Linked DNA regions of Homo sapiens: regions 1, 2 and 4 are each linked to region 3. The links are contacts of gene promoters, found by promoter capture Hi-C in blood cells and fetal thymus (Javierre and others, 2016). All regions are on one chromosome and are shown on one strand. The core of a region is centred on a gene start or on the middle of the fragment in contact, and the rest is flanking DNA. Distances in the headings are between cores, read along the strand shown.

Region 1 (6,079 bases), core at 2,626-5,125, 610 kb after region 3:
TAGCATATGTACTCTGATATCCTTTTTAGGGTCAGGTCCACACACACAGTGCAGCTTTGGAGTTAACCCAGGAGTTTATCCATAATTTTATGGGCTCACTTTCCTAAGCCTCCTCCTATCTGAAATCTCTCCATGATTTTCTGCTTCCCAGGTATCCCCTTCATCTTCTGGTTGAAAAGCCAGGGCTTCGATTTCCCTGTACTGCTGTGCATGTTCTGGAAACTGCATATGCTTGTGGGGCAAAGTGGTGAGAGGTTAGCGAGAGAAAAGACTGCAACAAGGATTCTCTTCGTATTATTCGAACCGAAATTGCTTTGATTTGAGAAAATGATTCTTTTTCCTTGGAGTGTCATCTATGAGTGAGGCTTCTAGCAGTCCTTCACCAGGAGAGTTGCTCAGGGCCTCTCTCATAAGCATATGTACAAAAAGTGAAAGTAAGTTAATTTTTGACTTAATTACTTAGGTGGCTAGAAGCAGCAAATCAAAGAGAAGGATTGAGACTGCTGGTAAAGATTTGTTACAGCAGTGAAGAATGATCACTAACTTAGCAAAACTGTAACGAGCAGATATAATGCTTTACTGCCTGGGGCCGTTTAGTGCAGGGGCAAACAGCTCAATGGACTAGAACACATCCTGTTATAACATCCTCCAGTGAACTGTAGGAACATCAAGCTGTTACATTACATTCTAAAACTTTGAAATGATGAATCCATGATATCAAGAAAAGATCAATTATGTTCTAATACTCTTTCTGAGAAGACAATTATACCTAAATCATAAAATTTTCACATCTAGAGAGATAAACTATACCTATCCAGAAAATTTTGCTACCTAGCATGATTTCACTATTTAGAATGCCCAAGTTCCCAGAAGTTCTATACAGCTAAGATTTTACTCTATTAAAAGGTCTATGATGCCAAAAATTATTAAACTCTGTTCAACAGAAATACAATTCAAGCATGTGTAATTTTAAATTTTCTAGTAGCAACATTAAAAAAGTACACAGTAACAGGTAAAATTAATAGATTTTACTTAACTCAATCCAAATATGTTAATATGAAATCAATTTTTAAAAATTATTGAGATATTGTGCATTCTTTTCTGCATTATCAAGTCTTTGGAATCCAATGTATATTTTAAACAGAGTACATCTCAATTTAGATCCTACATTTTCATCAGAAAGACTTGATCTATAGATCTTATAAAATGAATAGTTCAAAAAGTAGCTTCTCATGCTCAAGTTGTTCCACACATACCCAAAAAGTTTCCCAATAAAAAGAAGCAAGTACTAAAAATGTACTTTCATGTAGCACTCAAATCCACATTGACACAACTGGTTCATATTTTTTTTTAGAAGAACTGATTTGGCTTTGAAGCAAAAGCATAACAGTTTCAAAACTATGCCTGTCCAAGTTTAGTAAATTCACTAACTTTTGTGTCAACTCATTAATATTACCATTGAATTCAAAGGGGTATTACATAAATCAAAACTCAACTATAAATTATCAATACTAATGAAACATTCTTCAAATTTTACTCAACTTTGCAGTCAATTTTAATGCTGTCAATTAAAAATAAAATCTGCATATTGGTTTTTTAAAAATGTATAAAACTGTTATTAATTGGTGCCATGAAAAGTTTCCATTTTAATATAAATACGTGTGATGGGTTGTTTTCCCCTCAAAAATGAAATGTTAAAGTCCTAAGTCCTAGTACCTCAGAATGTGACCTTATTTGGAGACAGGGTCCTTATGGAGGTAATCAAGTGAAAATGAGGTCATGTAGGTGGGCTCTAAAACAATCTGACTGATGTCTTTATAAAAAAAGGAAAATGTGGACACAGATAGGCACACAGGGAAAATGCCATGTGAAGAGACAGAGTAAAGATGGTCATCTACAAGCCAAGGAGTGTCTGAGGCAACCAGAGGCTGGGAGAGGGCCGGGAACCAATCCTTCCCCAGCGGCTTTAAACGGACCATGGCTCAGCCCACACCTTATTTCAAACTTCTGACCCCTAGAACTTAACAAACGTTTGTTAACAAAAATTGTAATAGGTTTCTAGGGCTGTTGTAACAAATTTTTGTTACATGACCCAGTTTATGTTCCTTTGTTACAACAGCTCTAGGAACCTAATAAAATATTTCTTCCCGTGTAACTAAGTCACAATTAAGCTTTTCCTTTCATTGTGTTCAAATACAAGGTGTGTTCAACATAATCTGACAATACACAGTGATTAAGAGCATGACGCTGGAGTCAGACTTAGGATGAGATTCAAAATGAGTTTTTCCATAGGCACTGTGATATCAGATTAAAAAACAAACTACCCTGCCAGATTTTATCTTCGATTCCTGCATATTTGGCAAGCAATTCTTTTGTTTCAAGAAAATCTTGAAATTAATCATGTAGGTTTTCTTGACTTAACTGAGCATTGGCAAAGGGGACAAGATCAAATTCATGGTCTTTTATTTCTTTCAACAATTTCATACATTGGTGATGATTCATAGTATTTGCAGAAGTTATATTGCTGCAAGAAAAATCACATTAGATACCTAAAACATGAGAAGAAAGACATAATTCTATTCTGGAATGCAGTATGGTATAGAGAAAAGAGCTTTAGAACTAAGCATACCAGGGTTCCATTCTCAACTCATGTTTCCAACAGGGTGACTTTGGGCACGTCCCTTGACCTTTCTGAGTTTCAGATTCCTTATCTGCAAAAAAGGAACAATACCCCCTTCCTACGCATAGTGCTATTGGGAGATTAACTTAGATGGCTTAGTTAAAAGTCCCCAGTTCACTTCACATAATAAATGGCAGTTGCCATCCTCTTTCCTGGGATCCTTTCGGAGAATATCTATCTGTTATTTTATCTCCTGAAAGAGTTCCTGGCTGCCAAGTGTAACTTTTATTCATGCTCTGGGTTCTCCAGCAGCTTGTTAAAAAGTTCCAGACACCTACTAATCACTTTCCTTCTCATGTCACACTGCTTTCACAGCAAAGTCGCTCATTCCACCATACGTTAAGTTGTATGTAAAAATGTACAAAGTGTCTAGCCATACTTGTCTGATGGGTGAGATTCCACAAAATACCCAGCAAAGGGACAATAAATTCGGGGTTGCAGGTTCTTCACCAGCCGAGCCTTGTAGTTCAGGAGCTTCTTCCTTTCTGTTTTAATGAATTGGGCTTTCCATTCCTCTGAAATGACAGGATTTAGATTAGAGTCTCCTCTGCTGGAAAAATCACAGAAAAACACATGTTCTAGCAGATTGGAACTCTTTCAGGAGATAAAATTGATAGGTAACTAAGGCAGAAATAGAACAAGGCTCCATGTCATTAGTGGAGGATTTCCCCGGAGTTTTTATCTTGGAAATTTCAATTGGTTACTAGGAAAATGTTACCAAGCCAGCCAAAGGCACTGAGCTTTCTCCTTGTATATGGCAATTCATTCGGACCCTAGCTGAATACACAGGGTAGGATGCATAATCGTAGTTGGTGTGCATGCACATTTTAAGGGCATTGTAATTCTTGAAATTAACTCTTTACTAACATGAAAATGGCTTCATTATATTTGTAGATTATAACAGGTGTGTTCAACATAATCTGACAAATACACAGTGATTAAGAGCATGACGTTGGAGTCAGTTAGGTTGAAAATCCTGACCCACCACTTACTGGTTGGGCAGCCTTGGGCAAACTACCTAACTTCTCCATGTCTGTATCTTCTCTGTAAATGGAGTCATGATGCCCCTCTCACAGTGCCGTTCATTTGCTTATTCATTCACGTAACCAATATTTATTGTGCACCTACTCTGTGTCAGACGTGGTTCTAGCCACTGGGAATAAAGTGGTGAACAAGGCAAAGCAGGTCCCTGCTCTCATGGAGTGTTCATTCTAGTGAGAGAAGCAAATAATGAACAAGTAAATAAAGTCATTGCAAAGAATGATGCACCGTGAAGAAAATAAAACAGGGCAATGGAACAGAGAGTGGCTGGGGTGAGTGGGATGAGATGGAGGGAATCATTAGACAGGATGGTCAGTGAAGAGGTGACATTTGAGTTGAGACATAGATGAAAAGTTGCTGGTCACATGCAAATCAGGGCCAGCTGCACTCCAGGAAATGGAAACAGCAAACACAAAGACCCAGGGCAGGTGTGCACTTGACACTTTGGGTCTAAGAAACAAAAAGCAGGATGGGCTGATATATAGCAAGCATCAGAGTGACAGGCAGTGAAGGAACTTGAGGAATTAGACAGGACGCAGAACATACAGGGTAGAAGGTCAGAGAGCTGTTACTGTTATTGTTTCTATAAAATTTGACAAACACAGACAAGGATACAGAAAAAATATACAAGCTACCCATCACCTAGACATAATATTTTGGTATATTCAAGACCTTTTTAAATGTATATGTGTGTACTCACGCACATGTGCACACACACACAAACTCACCATCACACAGAATGGCATGATGCTAGTTAACCCTTAATAAGTATGTTTTACCTTCCCAGTCACACTTTTAACTTCTTAAGGACAGAACCTTCCCTCTATTTCTCATGTGGTTACACACTCCGGGAGGCAATGAATATAGACTTAGAGAAGAAAGCAAAGAACGGGACAAAGGTTATCTTCATATTGCAAAGCAGGGCATTTTCTGCCACACTGTTAGACAGGGATCACTTATCAGATACATTAATTTATTAAGTGGACATGTATTGAGCACTTACAATACTAGTGTTGAGGATACACACTTCCCCAATGTCAACCCCAACCCCACTCTTGGACCCAGAGCAGAAGGGCTCCTGCCTAAGACCCCCAACCAGAGGACCCTCCTCTGGGTGCACTAGAGGTCCCCAACTAGAGGACTCTCTTCTGGGCACACTGCTCCCTGATATGAGCATCCACAGTGCCAAGGGGATGTGTCTACATTGAGGCTGCACACACCCCATTAGGAACCATATTCCAAGAGCACCTAAGCCTGGATGACCCACTTCAGGCCTTTCCTGTTCTGCTCTACGGTCTACATGGTGAATCCAGATGATTCTCTTTCTTGGCTCCTCCTGAGGTGCTCTCAGATCTCAACATTTCCTTCATGCTCCATCATGTTTTGAGCTAGAAACCTTAGTTGGTAATCTGCAACTTACAAATCTGGTTTCCCAATAAGATTGCATGCTTCTTGTGGGGAGGGATCATGTCTCAATTACATTTGTATTTACTCTTACAGCATTTAGCAATGTGCCATGCGTGATACTTGGTATCACTTTCATACAAAATATTACCCGTAAATTTTCCACCACTGAAAGTCATTGGAAAGCCTGATGCTCCTCCAGCAAAATCACTCATCATTAGAGCAACCTTCATAGGCAGCCTTCCCCCATTGGGTCTGGTGCAGTCTACTATATTGAGTATTTTATGACCTGTGGAGAAACAAAGAGGTATAGATATTCAAGGTGAAATCTTGAACACCCATAGTTTGAATTCCAAGACAAGGACTTCTGTATACAGTCTGTATAATTGAACTTATTTGATTATAGAAGAATTGATTATATCAAAGGAAAAACAAACAGTAAGATTTTAAAACTTAAAGCTTTCAATAGTATATTTTCTGAATTTTCAAGCGACTAAATTCATCCCATTTGACTTGGTGGATACTAGGTGTCTCATGAAGACTTTTATCTTAATTCCACTCTAGCTCATAGATAGACTGCTTTCTTCTGTCAACTTTTTCCAGGTGTTGAGCCCAAAGGATCAGAAAAAAGTGGATTAACATACTTCCCTGTACCTTTTGCAAATTACATGCAAAGCTCATATTCAAATGATTGTTGGGGCAGTAAGGCCATCTTTTCATATGAAAAGCAGTGCATGATTATATTACATGATATTTCTAGGTGAAAGTAATAAAAGACATTTATTTAATAAATGTAGTTTTGAAGAAATCACTATAGGTGGAATGTAAAATATCTATTGCCTTATGAAAGAAATCTTTGCTCCTGTCACTATCTAGATGACATTATTTCTAATTTGTTTTCTGGAAAAATTATTTGAAAGATAGCTCCATATTTCTAGAACAAGGATATAACAC
Region 2 (5,696 bases), core at 2,985-5,484, 650 kb after region 3:
TTAAGTTTTGGATATTTCGTTTGTCATGGAATTTGTGCGTTCATTTTGGCCTTAAAAAATATTGTGTTGGCCAGGTGTGGTGGCTCACACCTGTAATCCCAGCACTTTGGGAGGCCAAGGCAAGCGGATCACCTAAGGTCAGGAGTTCGAGACCAACCTGGCCTACATGGTGAAACCCTGTCTGTACTAGAAATACAAAAATTAGCCAGGTGTGGTGGCAGGTACCTGTAGTCCCAGCTACGTGGGAGGCTGAAGCAGGAAAGTCGCTTGAACCTGGGAGGCGGAGGTTGCAGTGAGCTGAGATCGCCCCACTGCACTCCAGCCTGGGTGACAGAGTGAGACTCCATCTCAAAAGAAAAAAAAAATGAAAAAATATTGTGTTAAAATAATTTGTTTTAATCAAGATTTTTTTTACATTCCTTAAATTTTCTACAACTTAAAAGTGGTCTCACTTGTCTCACCCTAATCCTGGGCTCTGTTATTTTCTGATGCTTAATTATGATCTAAACTAGGAACTAGTTAGAAGTCAGCTTCATAGTCAATGTATGTATCTCACCTGACTTATCTCCATCCTGTTCTTTTTCTGAAGATTAGTAGGAACCAGATATAAGTGTGTAACAAACGAATTTTTAAAATTTACCTCACTAGAGATCACAGAAAATACCTATATTAATAAAAATGTCATTGGTTTACTATGTCGAGGGCCTATGGAATAAACAGTGATGCTCTTGAAACTTATTTTGAAAATTCAAAATCTAGACCTCAAAAAAATACAGAGAGGAGTAGAGTTTTATGAGGTAAAAATGTCATTCATTCATGCTCTGATGGCACCTCACACCCTGAGGATCTCTTCAAAGACCAGTGGCTGGGGCTTCTAAGCTCAGAGCTGAGGGAGAGGCAAGGATAGGAATGATATAAATGTCAACTATACTTGCAGTCCAAGCAGGGCAAGGAGCCCAAATAAAGACTACTTATGAAGCTAGAAATCCTCCAGAGGGTCATAATCTGAGAAAAAGGGTGGAGGAAGAAAAGGCAACTCATTCAGAATTTTCAGTCTGTATGTACATTTTGCTCCCCGTCTTAGGTATTTTGTTTTCAATGGGAAGATGTTCAGTATTCTGTTCAAGAAAAGGTAAACTCTATGAAGGCCAAGACTACAGTGCCTGTCCCGTGGTAGGTGCTCAGTAAATATCTAGTGAATTAAAGAATATCCTCACACGAACAAAATGTGTACTCCATGGTTAAAAGAAGAAAAATTCACCTACTGTACCCTGTGATACTCAATATCTAAAATCAATCACATAAGCTTCCACTTTAGGAAACTAGAAAAAGGAAAGTAAATTAAATTCAAAGGAAGCAGAAAAAAAGAAATGAAAATTAGAGCAGAAATCAATGGAATTGAAAACAGAAAACTAATAGAGAAATGCAACAAAACCAAATGCTGGTTCTTCGAAAAGATCAAAAAAGTGATAAGCCCACAGCTAGGCTAACTAATATTTTAAAAGAGAGAGAGAGGGAGGATGCAAAAATATTAATATCAGGCTGGGCACAGTGGCTTATGCCTGTAATCCCAGCACTTTGGGAGGCCAAGGCAGAAGCATCACTTGAGCCCAGGAGTTCAAGACCAGTCTGGGCAACAAAGTGAGACCCTGTGTCTAAGGCAGGTGTGGTGGCTCACATCTGTAATGCCAGCACTTTGGGAGGCTGAGGTGGGCGGATTGCTTTGAGCTCAGGAGTTCAAGACCAGCCTGGGCAATACAATGAAACCCCATCTCTACAAAAAATGCAAAACAATTAGCCAGGCATTGGTGGCTTGTACTTGTAGTCCCAGCTGCTTGGGAGGCTGAGACTGGAGAATCACTTGAGCCCAGAAAGCAGAGGTTGCAGTGAGCTGAGATCGTGCCACTGCACTCTAGCCTGGGTGACAGAGCGAGTCCCTCTCTCAAAGGAAAAAAAAAAAACAGACCCTGTGTCTACAAAAACAAAAAATACAATATCAGAAATGAAAGAAGGGACAACACTATGGAACTTATGGACATTAAAAAGATAATAAAGGAATGCTATGAAAAACTCTACGCTCACAAATTTGATAACCTAGGTGAAACAGACCAATCCATTCAAAGACACAATCTGCCAAAACTTGTACAAAAAGAAATAGACTATCTGAGTAGTACTATATATATTAAATAAATTGAATCGGTAACTAAGAACCTTCTAAAACAGAAAGCATCAGGCCCAGAAGGGTGTACTGGTGAATTCTACTATAATTTTAAAGAAGAATTTATACCAATTTTCAAAAGTCTCTTCCAGAAGACAGAAACAGAGGGAATATTTCCTGACTCATTCTATGAGCCCATAACCCTAATACCAAAATCAGACAAAGTTATAACAAGAAAAAAAAACTACAGGCTAATTTCTTTCATGAACATAGATGCAAAAATACTCAACAAAATATTATCAGATATAGCAATGGATAAAAAGAATTATATGCTATGACCAAATGGGATTTATTCCAGGCATGTAAGGCTGGTTCAACATTCAAAAGTCACTAATATAATGTATCAAATCAATAGGCTAAAGAAGAAAAGTCACATGATCACATGCATTTGATAAAATCCAACACTCATTCATGATAAAAACTCTCAGCACACTAGAAATACAGTGAAACTTCTTCAGCTTGATAGAGAACATTTACAGCTGGGCACAGCAGCCCATACCCATTAATCTAAGTGTTTTTGGGGGTCAACACAGAAGGATTACTTGAGGCCAGGAGGTTAAGACCAGCCTGGTCAACATAGCAAAACCCCATTGCTAAAAAATAAAAATAAAAAAGCGCCAGGTGCGGTGGCTTATGCCTGTAATCCCAGCACTTTGGGAGGCTGAGGCAGGTGGATCGCCTGAGGTCAGGAGTTCAAGACCAGCCTGGCCAACATGGTGAAACCCCGTCTCTACTAAAATACAACAATTAGCCAGGCATGGTGGCCTACGCCTGTAATCCCAGCTACTTGGGAGGCTGAAATAGGAGAACTGCTTGAACCCAGGAGGCGGAGGTTGCAGTGAGCTGAGCTCATGGCACTGCACTTCAGCCTGGGTGACAGAGTGAGACTCCATCTCAAAAAAAAAAAAAAAAAATTAGCCAGGCATGGCAGTATGCATCTATAGCCCTAGCTACTTGGTAGGCCAATATGTAAGTATCACTTGAGCCCCCAGTTCAAAGCTGGGGTGACCTATGATCACACCACTGGACTCCAGCCTGGGAGACAGAGCAAGACCCTGTATCTTAAATAAATAAATAAATTAATTAATTAATTAATTAAAACATCTACAAAAAATGAGAAAGTAGAAGCTTTCTTACTAAGATAAGGACAAGGCAAGGATGTCGTCTCTCACCACTGCTTTTCTACATTGCATTGAAAGTTCTAGACAATAAAATAGGGCAAATAAATAAATAAGTGGTATACAAATTGGGAAGAAAGAAGTAAAACTGTTTTTGTTCACAGATAACATGATTGCCTATGTAGAAAATCTGAAATAATCAATTCTTAAATGTGGGCTGCACATAGAGACTTCCTTTCATAGAGACTTCCTTTCAAAGAGTACAGTATGGAAATGATGAAAAAAAGAGTAACTTTAACAGTAAGGAAATGTGACAATCCGTCAATATCAACGGTGATAAATTATGTTAGAATGTAACTTTAATATGATGTGGTCTTCCTCCTGCAAACCCATAATCCCAGTCTAACCATGAGAAAAAAAATCAGATAAATTCCAGTAGAGAGGTAACCTATAAAATACATGGTCTGTACTCCTTGAAACTCAAGGTCATCCAAAACAAGAAAAATCTAAGTAAATATTACAGCCAAGAGAAGCCTAAGGAGACATGATAGCTCCTTAGCTAATGTGATGTGGTATCTTAGATGTAACCCTGAAACAGAAAAAGACATTAGGTAAAAGTAAAGAGACCTGAATAAGCTACTCAGCACATTAAGGCAAGAAAAAAAAAAGTCAAACACATAAGGAGTGGAAAGAAAAAAAATCATTTTTGAAGATACTTAGAACTGACTGTATACATAAACATTCAGAAGAACCCACATATAAATTATAAGACTCTGAGAGTTTAGTACAGCTGTTAGATATATAATCAATAGTTTAAGAAATCAATTTATTCTCACATCAGCAATAAAAAATACAAAAATTGAATTTAAAAATATATCATTTAAGATAGCAGAAAAGGCTGAGGTGGATCACCTGAGGTCAGGAGTTCGAGACCAGCCTGGCCAACATGGTGAAACCCCGTCTCTACAAAAAATACAAGATTAGCCGGGTGTAGTGGCACATGCCTGTAATCCCAGCTGCTCAGGAGGCTGAGGCAGGAGAATTGCTTGAACCCGGGAGGCAGAGATTGCAGTGAGCCGAGATCGTGCCATTGCACTCCAGCCTGGGCAACAAGAGAGAAACTCCATCTCAAAAAATAAATAAATAAATAAAAATTAAAAGATAGCATAAAAAATGAAATATCAAGAAATACATTTAACAAAAGATGATCTCTTTGGAGAAAATTATAAAACTCTATTGAGAGATATTAAGTGTATCTATAAACGAAGAGTTATATTATGTTCATAGATAGGAAGCTCAATATTATGAAGATAATCAATTTACTCCAAATTTATCTGTAGATTTACTATAGTCTCAATAAAACCCCCAGAATTTTTTTTTTTTTTTTACAGCTTAAAAACTTACTCTAAAATTTATTAAGATATGCCAAGGGCCAAAAAGAGAAAAAACATTCTTCAAGAAGAACAAGGTGGGAGATGAGAGAGGATTTGTCCTAGCAAATATCAAGACTTATTGTAAGCTATAATAATTAAGATCATATAGTGTTGGCTCAGTGGTAGATAAAATAATCAAGGGAACAGGATAGAGGCCTGGAAACAAGTCCACATATACACCAACACTTGATAAGTGACACTGTAGATCACTAGGGAAAGGATAAATGTTTCCACTAAACTTGCTGGGGTAACTGGGATCCCATATTGGAAAAATAGATTGGACTCTTTCCTTATTCCATAGATAAAAATCAATTTCAGACAAGTTAAAAGACTTACATTTAAAAGATAAACAATCAAGCTTTTGGAAGGTATTTAGGAGAAATTTTTTATAATCTTGGGACACGGTGGATTTTTTTCAACAAAACACAAAAAGCTCTACCCAAAAGGAAAATTATTGCAATTTTAGATTACACCAAAAGAACATATACACCCCAAAACACAATAAAAGAGTAAAAAGGTAAGACACATAATGAAAATTTGCAACATAAATATGACAAAGGATTTCTATGCAGAATATAGAAGAATGTCTATAAATCAATAAGAAAAAGACAATCTATAAGAAAAATGGGCAAAAAGGTTTGAATAGGTACTTCATAAAATAGAATATCCAAATTGTGACTAACTGTATAAACAGAGCTCAGCCTCACTAGCAATGGGGAAGTGAAAATAAAAACCACAATGAAGTACCACTATACTTACCAGAACAACTAAAATTAAAACAACTGCAAGTACTAAATGTTGATAATAGGAGTATGGAAACTCTCATATGTTACTAATGACAATGTAGTGAGGTTCAATCTCATTGAAAAATAGTGTGGCATTCTACACTAAAACAGAGAATACACATATACTGTCACCTAACAATCC
Region 3 (5,675 bases), core at 2,950-5,449:
GAAAAAAAGAAAGTGGAATGATTTGACAACAGTTGTCGCCCCAACAGTTTCCCCTGTAAGCTTAACACAGCCATGTGCACAGCCCCAAGGAAAGAAATCCCGCAGCTACCCCCAGACCTGAGGGGCAGTAGGCCCAGCTACTCCTGATTAGTCCAGAGGCCATATGCCTACGTGTTTTGTTTGGCTAACAGGATGTTTTATAAACTTAAATCAAGTTTATGAACTTTTTCTAAATGAGAAAATTCACGTAGAAATCTAGATTTCTGGCTCTCTTAAAAACAAAAGAACTGGCATCATGAACTGACGCTCCCATGTGACACGACAACCAGCTGCAGCCAAAGAGCCAGCTGCCCCCTGATAGAGCATGTCCTGCTCCTCCAGTCCCCACCATCCATGCAATGTGTGCAGGTTTCCACACCCCTTCTGGCCACCAGAGGCCTTTGAGTTTGCCTCCCTGTCACTCTGGGCCTTCTACAGACTGTGCGTGAGGGAGTCACAATTATTAATTGGGACTTTGGATATTGTCTCTCAGAACATCCAAGAGCAGTCAATCAATGGTTACAGGGGAAAAAAATACTGCTAGAAAAGATATCTAACCATATATAATACAACAAACCCATCCAAAAAGCACCAAAGAAATGGGTTCAGAACAGGTGTGGTGGCTCACGCCTATAATCCCAGCACTTTAGGAGGCCAAGGCGGGCAGATGGCTTGAGGCCAGGAGTTCAAAACCAGCCTGTGCAACATGGCAAAATCCCGTCTCTACCAAGAAAAAAACAAAAACAAAAATTAGCCGGGCATGGTGGCATGCACTTATGGTCCAAGCTACTCAGGAGGCTGAGGCGGGAACATCGCCTGTACCTGGGAAGTGAAGGTTGCAGTGAGCTGAGATCACACCACTGCACTCCAGCCTGGGCAAGACCCCACCTCAAAAAAAAAAAAGGAATGGGTTCAGTTACCAAACAATACTAATCCCAAATGTCTCAATTTCTCATTATGCATTTTTTTGTATTTGAGATTCAGAATGACATAAACGTATAAATGTAATAAAATAAGAGGAAATTATTTGCTTAGTGTGATAGTTATGAATATGGTCTTTATATGACAATATTGCTTGCAGTTTTATGAAGTTTGTATTACTTTGGTAACAATAAAAACATCAAAGATATGACTTTAAAGAAAGTTAAAACGTAGCTCACAATATTACTATCTGACAAATAATAAGCATATGGAAATATTTTTCTTTCTGCCCCACACCCCCCTTTCCTAATATAGGTGGCTTTGTTATAAACAAGACAGCATGATTCTACCATTTAGAACTCTTCTGGAAATAGAGACCCAAGGTGAAAAGTAAACATACAGTTACATTAAGGAGTGAGTAGGGAGAATACAGGTTTGAAAGCCAGAGGGTCTCAAGCTTTATGTGGGCCAGTCTAGAAAATGGGGGAGAAGAGGCTGGGCACAGTGTCTCATGCCTGTAATCCCAGCACTTTGGGAGGCCGAGGTGGGCAGATCACCTGAGGTCAGGAGTTCAAGACCAGCCTGGCCAACATGGTGAAACCCCATCTCTACTAAACAATACAAAAATTAGCCAGGCATGGTGGCGCGCACCTGTACTCCCAGCTACTCTGGAGGCTGAGGCAGGAGAATCACTTGAACCCAGGAGGCAGACGTTGCAATGAGCTGAGATCGTGCCATTGCACTCCAGCCTGGGCGACAGAGTAAGACCCTGACTCAAAAAAAAAAAAAAAAAAAAAAGTGAAAGAAAAAAAAGAAAAAGAAAATGGGGGAGAGGATGAATAAGGGTGGGAACTGGGGAGTGGAGGTTCCCAGGACAAGGGCAGCCAAAGGAGAAAGGAGGGAAGAGGTCCCTCTCACCTGATGGTCTTGTCCTTGTAGGCCCTGGTAAGGACAGACACCCAGCCAGGCGCTAGGGGGCATCAGGACAGGCTGGAAGTAAGACAGGAGCCAGGAGGAAATTGTTTACACTCTGAATGGGGGCTTGAAGAGGGGCACAAAACTGAGGGAAAAGGGGAGGGCCACATTGTGAACTTTCTAAGCTCCAGGCGCTTTTGCCTTTGTGAAGTACTTCCTGTCACAAAAATAAGTAAACAATAAATAGAAATCACATTTTACATCTGCATTGGTGTAAGATTAACATATTAATATGCCACCTAAAACTTCTTTTCTTCAGATTTTAGAATAAATTAAACATTTGTGAGTGCTCCTAAAAGTTTTATGGGCCCTTGGCATCGTACCTACTGTGCGTAATGGATAAGTCATCTGGGAAAGGGAGTGGGTACCGTTTGAAATAGAACCTTAAAAAGGTAAGTGGGCTAGGGTAATTTTTGAACAAGAGAGGCAGCCACAATTAACTTGGCTTTTCTGGGCCTCAGTTGATTGAGGCCTCAATTGAATGATTTCCCCAGGCCAGTAGAAATGAGCCCTGTAATCCCAGCACTTTGGGAGGCCAAGGAGGGCGGATAACTTGAGGTCAGGCATTCAAGACCAGCCTGGCCAACACGGTGAAAACCTGTCTCTACTAAAAATACAAAAATTAGCTGGGCTTGGTGGCACACACCTGTAGCCCCATCTACTCGGGAGGCTGAGGCAGGAGAATCGCTTGAACCCGGGAGGCGGAAGTTGCAGGGAGCTGAAATCGCACCACTGCACTCCACCCTGGGTGACAGAATGAGTCTGTCGGTCTCACAAGAACAAAACAAACAAAAAACAAAAACCACCACCAAAAACAAAACAAAACAAAAACAAAAACTCCCTCCGCAGGCAGGAGATGTAAACACGCCAGCTCCCCAGCCCCACCTGTGATACCTACTGGCCCACATCCCTATTAGGACTCCCTGGTTCTCCCCAGTTCCTGCAATAAAATACAGAGCAAAATAGTGTGAAATTGATTAAACTCTACTGTTATCACTTCTGCCATATGTGACTGGCTCAAAACTCAATGGATCTGACTCAGCAAAAGACAAAGTCAAAATTTAAAGTTACTGCCTCGGCATTTTGCAAATGTCCTAGAAAAAAATTCAACGTCCTAGAAAAAGGTGAAAGCTAGCAAGATACTCTCAACGCTGTAGGAGTTGAGAAAGGGAGATATGTAACCTAAAATCAATGCATAGGGCTGGGCTTCATTTGCACCCACAAATTCCCAGCATACGCCTGCTATTTTTATTTTTATCCTCATTAGGTTTTAAGCTTCCCTGCTGCTTTCAGAGTCTTAAGCCCAAGTCTAATTTTTTAACGGATGAAGAATGCTGTTTAAAGGTGCTCAAATACCTTGGTTGGATAGTATGCTCAATCCTTATACCTTGGTTGATTCAATTTTGACAAATGCTTCCATTTACTAGTTGGTGACCCAACTTTAATCTTACTAGTGGCTTGACTAGGGTAGCTAGTATGACTTTGAACGCTATATTGAATTTAATGTGGCAACTGTAATGAGCATTTTACGTTATCTCACAACAAAATGGGGTAGATATGGTTCTATTTTATAAGTGACTGGACTAAGGTTAACCTGTCGGTCACACAGCTTGTCGGCAACAGACTTGAGTTTGGATCCTAGTCTGTTTATTTCCAAAGCGCTGTTATTTATCGGGAGCAACCCTAGGAGAATGCCTAGACACACACCCAAAAAAGCAGCCAGGCAGCAGAACGCGGGGTCACACTTCGACCCCTCAGAGAACGATCGCTCCCAATCAATACTACGTGCTCAGGAGCTACAACTGAAGAAGCGTGATCACGGCCTTGGCATTTAGGGCAGGCACCAGCGCATCTATGGACCGCGCACAAATTCCGGGGATGCCGAATTTGGGGGATGCTAAGGGGAGAGAGTGGGTCTCTAGCAGCGATTGGGGGCTCAGGAGCAGTTAGTGACAAATGAGCACCCGAAAAGTGAAAAGGTGACAGCAGTCCGCAGGTGCATCTACTGGCGAGCCTTCTCCATCCCCGAACCCAACCCTCCCCCGGGAGAAGGTCGCGCCAGGAGAGAAGCCGCGCGGCGCTTAGGGCAAGGTGCAGAGGGCGGCGCGGCGGTGCAGCGAGAAAGACGCGGAGAGAGGGCGCTGCTCTGTGGCTCTGCAACCTTCCGCCAGCTCCCACGCTTTCCCCGCGCGTCCCCGGCGCCTCCTCGCTCCTCTTGCTTCCCCGCGACCCCTGCGTTCCCGTGCGCGCGCGCCCGCTTGCCTGTTTCCTGTCGCCGTCGTTGCCCGGGCCATGGCGACCTGCATTTGGCTGCGGAGCTGTGGGGCCCGGCGCCTCGGGTCGACGTTTCCAGGCTGCCGCCTCCGCCCCCGCGCCGGCGGCCTGGTCCCTGCCTCCGGGCCTGCGCCCGGCCCGGCCCAGCTCCGCTGCTACGCTGGGCGCCTGGCGGGCCTCTCTGCGGCGCTGCTGCGCACCGACAGCTTCGTGGGCGGCCGCTGGCTCCCGGCCGCCGCCACCTTCCCCGTGCAAGACCCGGCCAGCGGCGCCGCTCTGGGCATGGTAGCCGACTGCGGGGTGCGAGAGGCCCGCGCCGCCGTGCGCGCTGCCTACGAGGCTTTCTGCCGCTGGAGGGAGGTCTCCGCCAAGGTGAGAGAGCCCGGATGCAGGGGGCCAGAGCTGGCCGGGGACACGGCGGGGAGCAGAGGGGGCTTTACCCCAAAGTGACACCAGCCGCGTCGCCTCCCTCCTGTGCTCAGTTCCCCAGGGTATACAAAGTGGAAAGTCAGAGCAACAAGGGAGACGACCGACAAATAAGTTTGGAGCTTCCACTTTGAGCCGGGCACTAGGGACACGACCCCTGCCCTCAAGCCTCATCAAGTTATGCACTGCCCAGTAGGGGAGGCAGAACGTGAGCGCCTAATACAAGCGAGCTGCTTGTTATGGTCAACAAGCCTAACCGTGGAGGGGCGGGGAGAAAGGGGAGGGGTGTCAGGGAAGTGAGAGCACGTGTGGCCCTTCAGAGTAGCTGAAATATCTCCGCAGCTGCAGGGAGCCCACGCAGGAGGCTGCTTCAGCGGCCCTTGAGAAGGCTGGTAGTGAGGGCCCCTGGCCAGAATCATGGGATCGGAAACGGAGAGAACTGTAGAAAGATTTGGGTTTTGTGCAGGGGAAGAGAGAAATCCAGGAGCGTTCTCCAGGTTTTCACCCTAAATGGATAAATGCTGCTATTGGCCATTGCATAGAGAACACTGGAGAATTGGGAGTAAGGGGTGGAGGGCCATTAAATGGGAAGAATAGAGTAAGAAGAAAACTAAGAAAGTAGTTTCTTCCTTCTAATATTATATTATTAAACCTGGAGTCAACGCAGTGAAATTTTTTACCGTGTCCTTCAAAGCTCTCCCTCTGAAGGAATGCATCCAGCGATCCCTACGAGTACAAGAGAGTCTTAGCACTCATTCATCCATCAGCTGTTTACTGAGCACCTGCTGTATGCCCTGCACTGTTGGAGGTGCTTGGGATACCTCAGTTAAACGAAAGAAGGATTCTGCCCTTATGGAGCTCACATGGGGTGGAAGGGGAGCAGAAGAGAGATCAGAACTCTAAACAACAAACATAATATCTAAGCAAATAAGTATGTGAGAGATGCTGAGTGCAATATGGAAAAAAGGTAGAAGCAGGAGAGGATCCGGGCCAGAGGGAAGGGGCAAGATGCAGCATCAACAGTGTGACCAGGCATATTC
Region 4 (6,375 bases), core at 1,895-4,394, 540 kb after region 3:
CACGGTTTCTGCTGTGGTCTGGGACACTTGGGTGCTTGTATCCACGCTGAAAAGCTAAATCTGCAACCGTAGTGCCTCCCCATACCGGTACAAAATCCCAGAGTGGAGGAGGCCGGGGGAGAAACATGAGTGTGGTCAAGGCCTGACCCTTGCCAGATAACAGGTGAGCCAGGACAGAAAGCTGATAGGAAGCTGGGCTGCTCTGTAAATTGACGCTGGATCTCTCTGCAAGCAGGGGCCATCTGCAGAGTGGGTAGCCTTGTGCAGATGGAGGACTGTGGGAGAGGTGCCCACATATTCTTCCTATCCCGGGCCCCTCTGTCTCCCTGAGATCTTGCCTTCAGGTTCTCATCTGAAGACAGTGGTATTTAGAAGAAAATCTAAGACTGTTTCTATGAATCAGAGTGCCTTCCAGAGCTGCACGTGCAGTGAGGAATAGCCAGCTGGGTTCTTACCTCCTTGTGTAGAATTGTCAACCCAGGATGGTGGCAGACAGGAGAGCCCTCCTTCGAAGTCCCACAGCCCCAACCACAGTCCAGGGCATCGTCTGTGGGATTCAGACTGCTGCTTGACCAGGTCCCCTTGCCCAGTCACAATTAAGAATGCCATCACACTGAGTCAGGAGAATGGCCGGCGAAGCAGAACAAGACAATTAAGTCACATTGACACTGGGAGGAAGTCGCCAGTGGTATCTCTGAGACAGCAGATTCCCTAATCTCAAGTGCATATCAGCTTTGTCACTGTTGTCTTTTCAGTGGGACAGAGAAAACTCATTTCCATTCCTCTGATTGGAGTCCACAAAAAGTGCTAACCAGTGGCTGCCTCCATCAAAGCTCTACCTAACAGAGTTCAACGGGTTTTTGTTTTGTTTTGTTTTGTTTTTTGAGACAGCATTTGCGCTGTCACCTAGGCTGGAGTGCAGTGGCATGATCATAGCTCAGTGTAACCTCCAGTTCCTAAGTTCAATCAATCCTCCTGCCTCAGCCTCCTGAGTAGCTGGGTTTACAGGCACACACCACCATGCCCACTAACTTAAAAAAAAATGTTTATAGAGACAGGATCTTGCTATGTTGCCAGGCTGGTCTCTAATTCCTGGCCTCGAGTGATCCTCCCACCTCAGCCTCCCAAAGCATTGGAATTACAGGTGTAAGCCACCACGCTAGGCTAGAGTTCAACTTTTTAAAGAGGCGAAACAAGTTCCAAGTGGGCTCTGTCATCTGGTTGCATTTACTTGTACTGAAAATAGCCTGGAGATCCTCTGTGGGGGCAAACACTCCATTTTCCCAGAAGAACAGGAGTCACACCCCTAGGGGCCAAGATCAGTTTTTCCCTAGTGTATCTGTGTTGCCTCCTGTGTGGTGTGGTGTAAGCCAGCTGAATGTGAGGGTAGGGTGCCTGGCTGAGGAAGATGGGGATGCCTTCTCCAGTATGACATGTCTCCCATTATTTTGGGAAAAAATGTGGAGGTGGCAATGGTAAGCCCTTCATACTGCCTCAAATGCCACTATTACCATTTTTAGGCCCTCAGCTCCCAATAGCTACATTGCCAGGAACTGTGCTAGGCACTTGACATATTTTATGTCTTTTAATCCCCTCCAATAACAATGGGAGGTGGGTGTTACTGTAATAAGCATTTTAAGGTTGAGGAAGTGGGCATTCAGGGAGGTGGAATAAATTGCCCACAGGCCAACAGCTAAGAAGTTGTAGAAGCAGGATTTGAAGCCAAATCTCCTGGTTGTCAAAGCTTATATACTTTTCAGGGTTTCTTTCCTTTAATCGCCCACCCCAACTGTGGCAGACTAAAGGAAAGAAAGGCTCTCGGGGCATTCAGTTATCTGTGCCCACCCCTCATTCCCGTGCCCTGCCCTGACCCTGCTGTCATCATGTAGAAGGCCCAGGCACCCACGGGCTGTTGCTGTGTCTATACTCCTCTTTACCTGGGCAGGTCACAGGTAAGCAGCTTGACAGGGTTTACAGGACACCAGATAGGTCCTTCTCCCGAATGTCTGCTCAGTATCACACATGTGTGTCTTTGTAGTGACCTTTGGCCTCTTTTAAAATTCAAATATCCCTAAGAAGGGTAACATATTACCGTTCTCATACCTTGGTTTGATTATTATTATTATTTTTTTACTACACTGCTATGGACTAGAAAAGAAAATAAATATTTCATTACAGATTCTGGGGGTGAAAGGAAGAAGTGAGGAAGGCTTAGGGAAGATGAACTTTGGGATCCATTGCTTTACTATGAGTTTAATTTTGATGGAACCCAAACGGTTATTGAGTAGATGAGGTACCAGGTATTTTACTAAGGGTTACAGGCATGCAGAGCTTATTAAGGATTTGTTCTCACCTGGGGAGATTTGAATATGGTCCGGGTATTAAATAATATGTGGGGATCATTGTTAATTTTATTACGCAGTTATGTAGAAAAATGTACTTATTTTTTAGAGACGCTCTTACTAAAATGTCATAATGTCTGATTTATTTTTAAATGTTTCAACAGGAAATTAGATGAAGCAAATATGGCAAAATGTTAATAATTGTTAAATTTAGGTGATAGATATATAAGATTCATTATACTATTTTCTCAACTTTACTGAATGTTTGAAAATTCTCATAATAAAAAGTAAAACAAAAACAAACAAATGAGCAAACAAAAAACCTAAAGCTTTCCAGTAGCTCAAAATCGAAGTTCTATTGCAAAGATGACAATTAGGTTTTGTAGTAAGCAGAATTTGAAGATGGCCCCACGATTCTTGCCCCTTGGCATACAGGTTCTGTATAGTTCTTGAACCTTGGGTATAAATATGATGAGATTTTACTTCTGTGATTAGATTATGTTATATGGCAAAAATGAGGGATTTTTCAAATGTAATTAAAGTCCTTGATCAGTCAATTTTTAACTAATCAAAAGAGAGATTATCCTGGGTGGGCCTGACCTAATCAGGTGAGCCCTTTAAAGAAGAGTCTATAAGCAGCAAAAGACCCTTGTTGGCCTTGAGGAAGCAAACTACCATGTTATGGAGAGGGTCATGTGGCAGAGAACAATGGGTGGCCTTTAGTTGCTGAAGGCCTCAGGCCTACAACTGCAAGGAACTAAATTCTGCCCACAACCATTGAGCTTGGAAGGAGACCCTGAGCCTTAGATGAGATTGCAGCCCCAGAGAACACCTTCATTGCAGCCTTGGGAGACCCTGAGCAGAGAATCCAGCTAATTCATGCCCATGGAAGCTGTGAGATAAAAAATGTATGTTGTTTTAAGGCAATAAACTTGTGGTAATTTGTTACAAAGCACTAGAAAACAAACATAAATTTCAACCAGTGAGGCAATTCTAATTGATTAGACATGGCAGCTTAAGGCACTATATTAGAAAGGATTCCAAGCCAGGGCCTGGCCCCCGTGGGGAAAAAGGAGAGAGCTGTGGTTGATTACCAATGTCTGCATGGGCATGGAAATGGACAGTGGTGGCACATGTCCCTCCTATCGCCATTCAAGGTCCCTCTGTGTATTTAAAGAAAAGGGGTTTACTAATTTATTTTTCTTAATGACAAAATAACCCCAAAGGATTATATAACTTGAGTCCCCAAGTTGGAGGAAACGCTGACCTATGAGAAAAGCTTCAGAGAAAGAAGACAGGAAACGTTATCAAAGCAGATTTTAGCAGCTGCAAAATATTGTTGAGGGCCACCCTTGCAGGCTGACATTTGCAGTGATAAGCGTCCTTCCCTCGCAGGTGTCTTCACTCTTTCTCCCTTTCCACTTTCTCTGATTCGCTGCCTGCAAACATGCACAGGTCTTTTGTGAGTTGGAAAATGCAACCCTCCAAAAATGTCACTTGATCCTGTTCCTGTTTCTAACTCACACTGACTCTCATGCAGCAGGGCTCTTGACCATCCTGGAAGAATATCAGAATTCCCTCCTTAGGCATTATGCCAAAGAGGTCAGGACCAGCCTGCTTAATGTTGAGCTTACATTCAACATCTATTAATATATCATTTCATATTAAAACCATGCAGAAATCAGCACAGTATTCAGATGTTAGTCTCAAAATTTAAGTGAAATTTCTGTAGTAAAGCAGGCTTTTCTGATAACTCTTATTTTAAGAGTATAGGCCGACTTCCCATCCATACTAGTGAAACCATGCAGATCCATAATCCAGCTTTTCTCAGTGACGGATTCCATAACGGAGGTATTGGATTAAAACTTAGGATCACAACTAATTTCCTACAGATATAGAATGAAGTTTCATAAAAACTGGAATTTAAATTTAAGGTACGCGCAAGTAAAAGAAACATGATCAAGAAGGTAAAGGCCCAGAGAAAACTGATGGCTTCTTCAATTATATCAAAGAAAAAGAAGTATTTTGCTTGATGCAAATTGTTTGCTTGTCTTTGAATTGTCATTTGGAATCCAACCAGCTCAGCTTGCCTCCGAAACTAGTAGACTGTGACTATTTTGGATACATGTTCCTAAGCCACTCATTCATCTTAATTTAATTGTCTATACCAGGGGCTTTTAACACATAAGGAAGAGTTGCCAACATATAACTAGGCATCTAGGCATAAAGAACACTGTGTGATAGACTTCTACTTTTTTTTTTTTTTTAGATGGAGTTTCGCTCATCGCCCAGGCTGGAGTACAATGGCACAATCTCCGCTCACTGCAATCTCCGCCTCTTGGGTTCAAGCGATTCTCCAGTCTCAGCCTCTTGAGTAGTTGGGATTACAGGTGCCCACCACCACGCCTGGCTAATTTTTGTATTTTTAGTAGAGATGGGGTTTTACCATGTTGGCCAGGCTGCTCTTCAACTCCTCACCTCAGGTGATCTGCCCAACTCGGCCTCCCAAAGTGTTGGAATTACAGGCGTGAGCCACCGCGCCCGGCCTGTGTGATGGACTTCTAATGAGAACAACACCTAGCACATAAACCAGGGCTTGGCTACTGGTGGTCCACAGTTGTCACACGTTGCCTCAGAACATTGGTATTACATATTTAAAATTCAAAGAATAAACTGCCAACATTTAAACTTGAGAGCTTTCACATAGAAATTAGTGTTTCTTGCTTTTTTTTTTTTTTTTCGAGACAGAGTTTCGCTGTTGTTGCCCAGGCTAGAGTGCAATGGCACGATCTCAGCTCACCGCAACCTCCACCTCCTGGGTTCAAGTGATTCTCATGCCTCAGCCTCCTGAGTAGCTGGGATTACAGGCGTCCACCACCACGCCCGGCTAATTTTTGTATTTTTAGTAGAGACAGGGTTTCACCATGTTGGCCAGGGTGGTCTCGATCTCTTGACGTCATGATCCTCCCGCCTTGGCCTCCCAAAGTGCTGGGATTACAGGCATGAGCTACCGCATCTGCCTGCTTTTTTTGAAAAATTGGAAAATCCACCAACCTCTACCCCATTCCTCATGGAAACAATCTGATGGCATTGAATGGTGGGTGCCCCACTATGATGGGACACATATTTCCCCATTTGCTGCACCCTCTACCACTGCCTATTGCTACCTCATATTGAGGCCAAATGTCAGTTGTCATTTATCATCATGCTTTCACTATCATTTTTCTCACAACAGAGACAGGAAGAAAGTGAACTATTCCTTACCCCTGTGAAAACAGACCCCTTTCACTCATTCTTCTTAGCAGCCCAGCCCTCCACCCATTTGAATTTGCTGACATCTGAGATAAATAAACATCTCTAAAAACAGACACACACAAATTTGTTACTTGTTCATGAGAAATGGTCTTGGCATACATAGGAAATGCTTTTTCATTCTCAGATTACTCCAGCACTAAAAACTCCCTTTTGGTTAGAGTTCCTGTCTACTCAGTTGTGAGTTTGATAATTTAAGAAGCATACAATTGGGCCCTTTAAAGGAAATATGACTCACTGATCCTTGAATTTCACCTCATCTAGCGACACTGCTGATAACCTGTTTGATTCAGATGTTCCATTTTTTTCCCCACTGTAATAAACAAAAATTCCAATTCACATGACTCCTTGACCGATGTAAATATTTATTTGTATTTTCCATCTGGTTGGAGAAATAAAGAAAAGAGGCCCTGTGGCCCTGTCTTGCTCACCACTTGAAACAAAATGTATCTAGTTACCTCTAATTAGGATAGGGCTGGGAAGGAAATAGGAAGAGAGAGAGTCGGTAAAAAAATACCAAAGTCCATTGGAAAACGGAGCACAGGAAAGTGGAAGAGAGGAGGAAGGGGGAAAGATTGGAGAAGATTTGCAGAGGGCAAGAAATGAGTGTGTTGCGGGAAAGTGTGGAAAACAAAGGCAGAGAGTAGGTAACACCAGACGGGACACTCACGGTTGAGCTGGCGCCTCCGGATCCTGTCCCTCCATGGCCTGTTTCTGATCC

Evidence for each region. The method cuts DNA at HindIII sites, captures the fragments that hold promoters and counts their contacts. A CHiCAGO score of 5 or more calls a contact.
Region 1: a contact is called between a fragment that was not itself captured here and the fragment with the promoter of ALDH5A1 in region 3, in 1 of 17 cell types (neutrophils). The highest score is 6.9, in neutrophils.
Region 2: a contact is called between a fragment that was not itself captured here and the fragment with the promoter of ALDH5A1 in region 3, in 2 of 17 cell types (non-activated CD4 T cells and total B cells). The highest score is 6.8, in non-activated CD4 T cells.
Region 4: a contact is called between a fragment that was not itself captured here and the fragment with the promoter of ALDH5A1 in region 3, in 1 of 17 cell types (fetal thymus). The highest score is 8.4, in fetal thymus.

Annotation. Positions count from the first base shown.
Region 1 is chr6:25,103,300-25,109,378 of GRCh38, forward strand. It overlaps the pseudogene CMAHP. Among named protein-coding and RNA genes, the nearest start is that of RIPOR2, 170 kb to the left of the region's middle. The HindIII fragment of the contact is 3,413 bases long and covers 2,170-5,582 here.
Region 2 is chr6:25,141,817-25,147,512 of GRCh38, forward strand. No RefSeq gene overlaps it. Among named protein-coding and RNA genes, the nearest start is that of CARMIL1, 130 kb to the right of the region's middle. The HindIII fragment of the contact is 1,781 bases long and covers 3,345-5,125 here.
Region 3 is chr6:24,490,770-24,496,444 of GRCh38, forward strand. ALDH5A1 (aldehyde dehydrogenase 5 family member A1) reads left to right here and starts at 4,200. Exons shown (of 10, transcript NM_001080.3): 1 at 4,200-4,581. The coding sequence starts at 4,228. It also overlaps a transcript of GPLD1 not described here. RefSeq lists a silencer at 4,206-4,595. The HindIII fragment of the contact is 3,166 bases long and covers 3,209-5,675 here.
Region 4 is chr6:25,035,527-25,041,901 of GRCh38, forward strand. It overlaps LOC102724765 (a long non-coding RNA gene), which reads right to left and starts at 615. Exons shown (of 2, transcript NR_187803.1): 1 at 456-615. It also overlaps a transcript of RIPOR2 not described here. The HindIII fragment of the contact is 950 bases long and covers 2,670-3,619 here.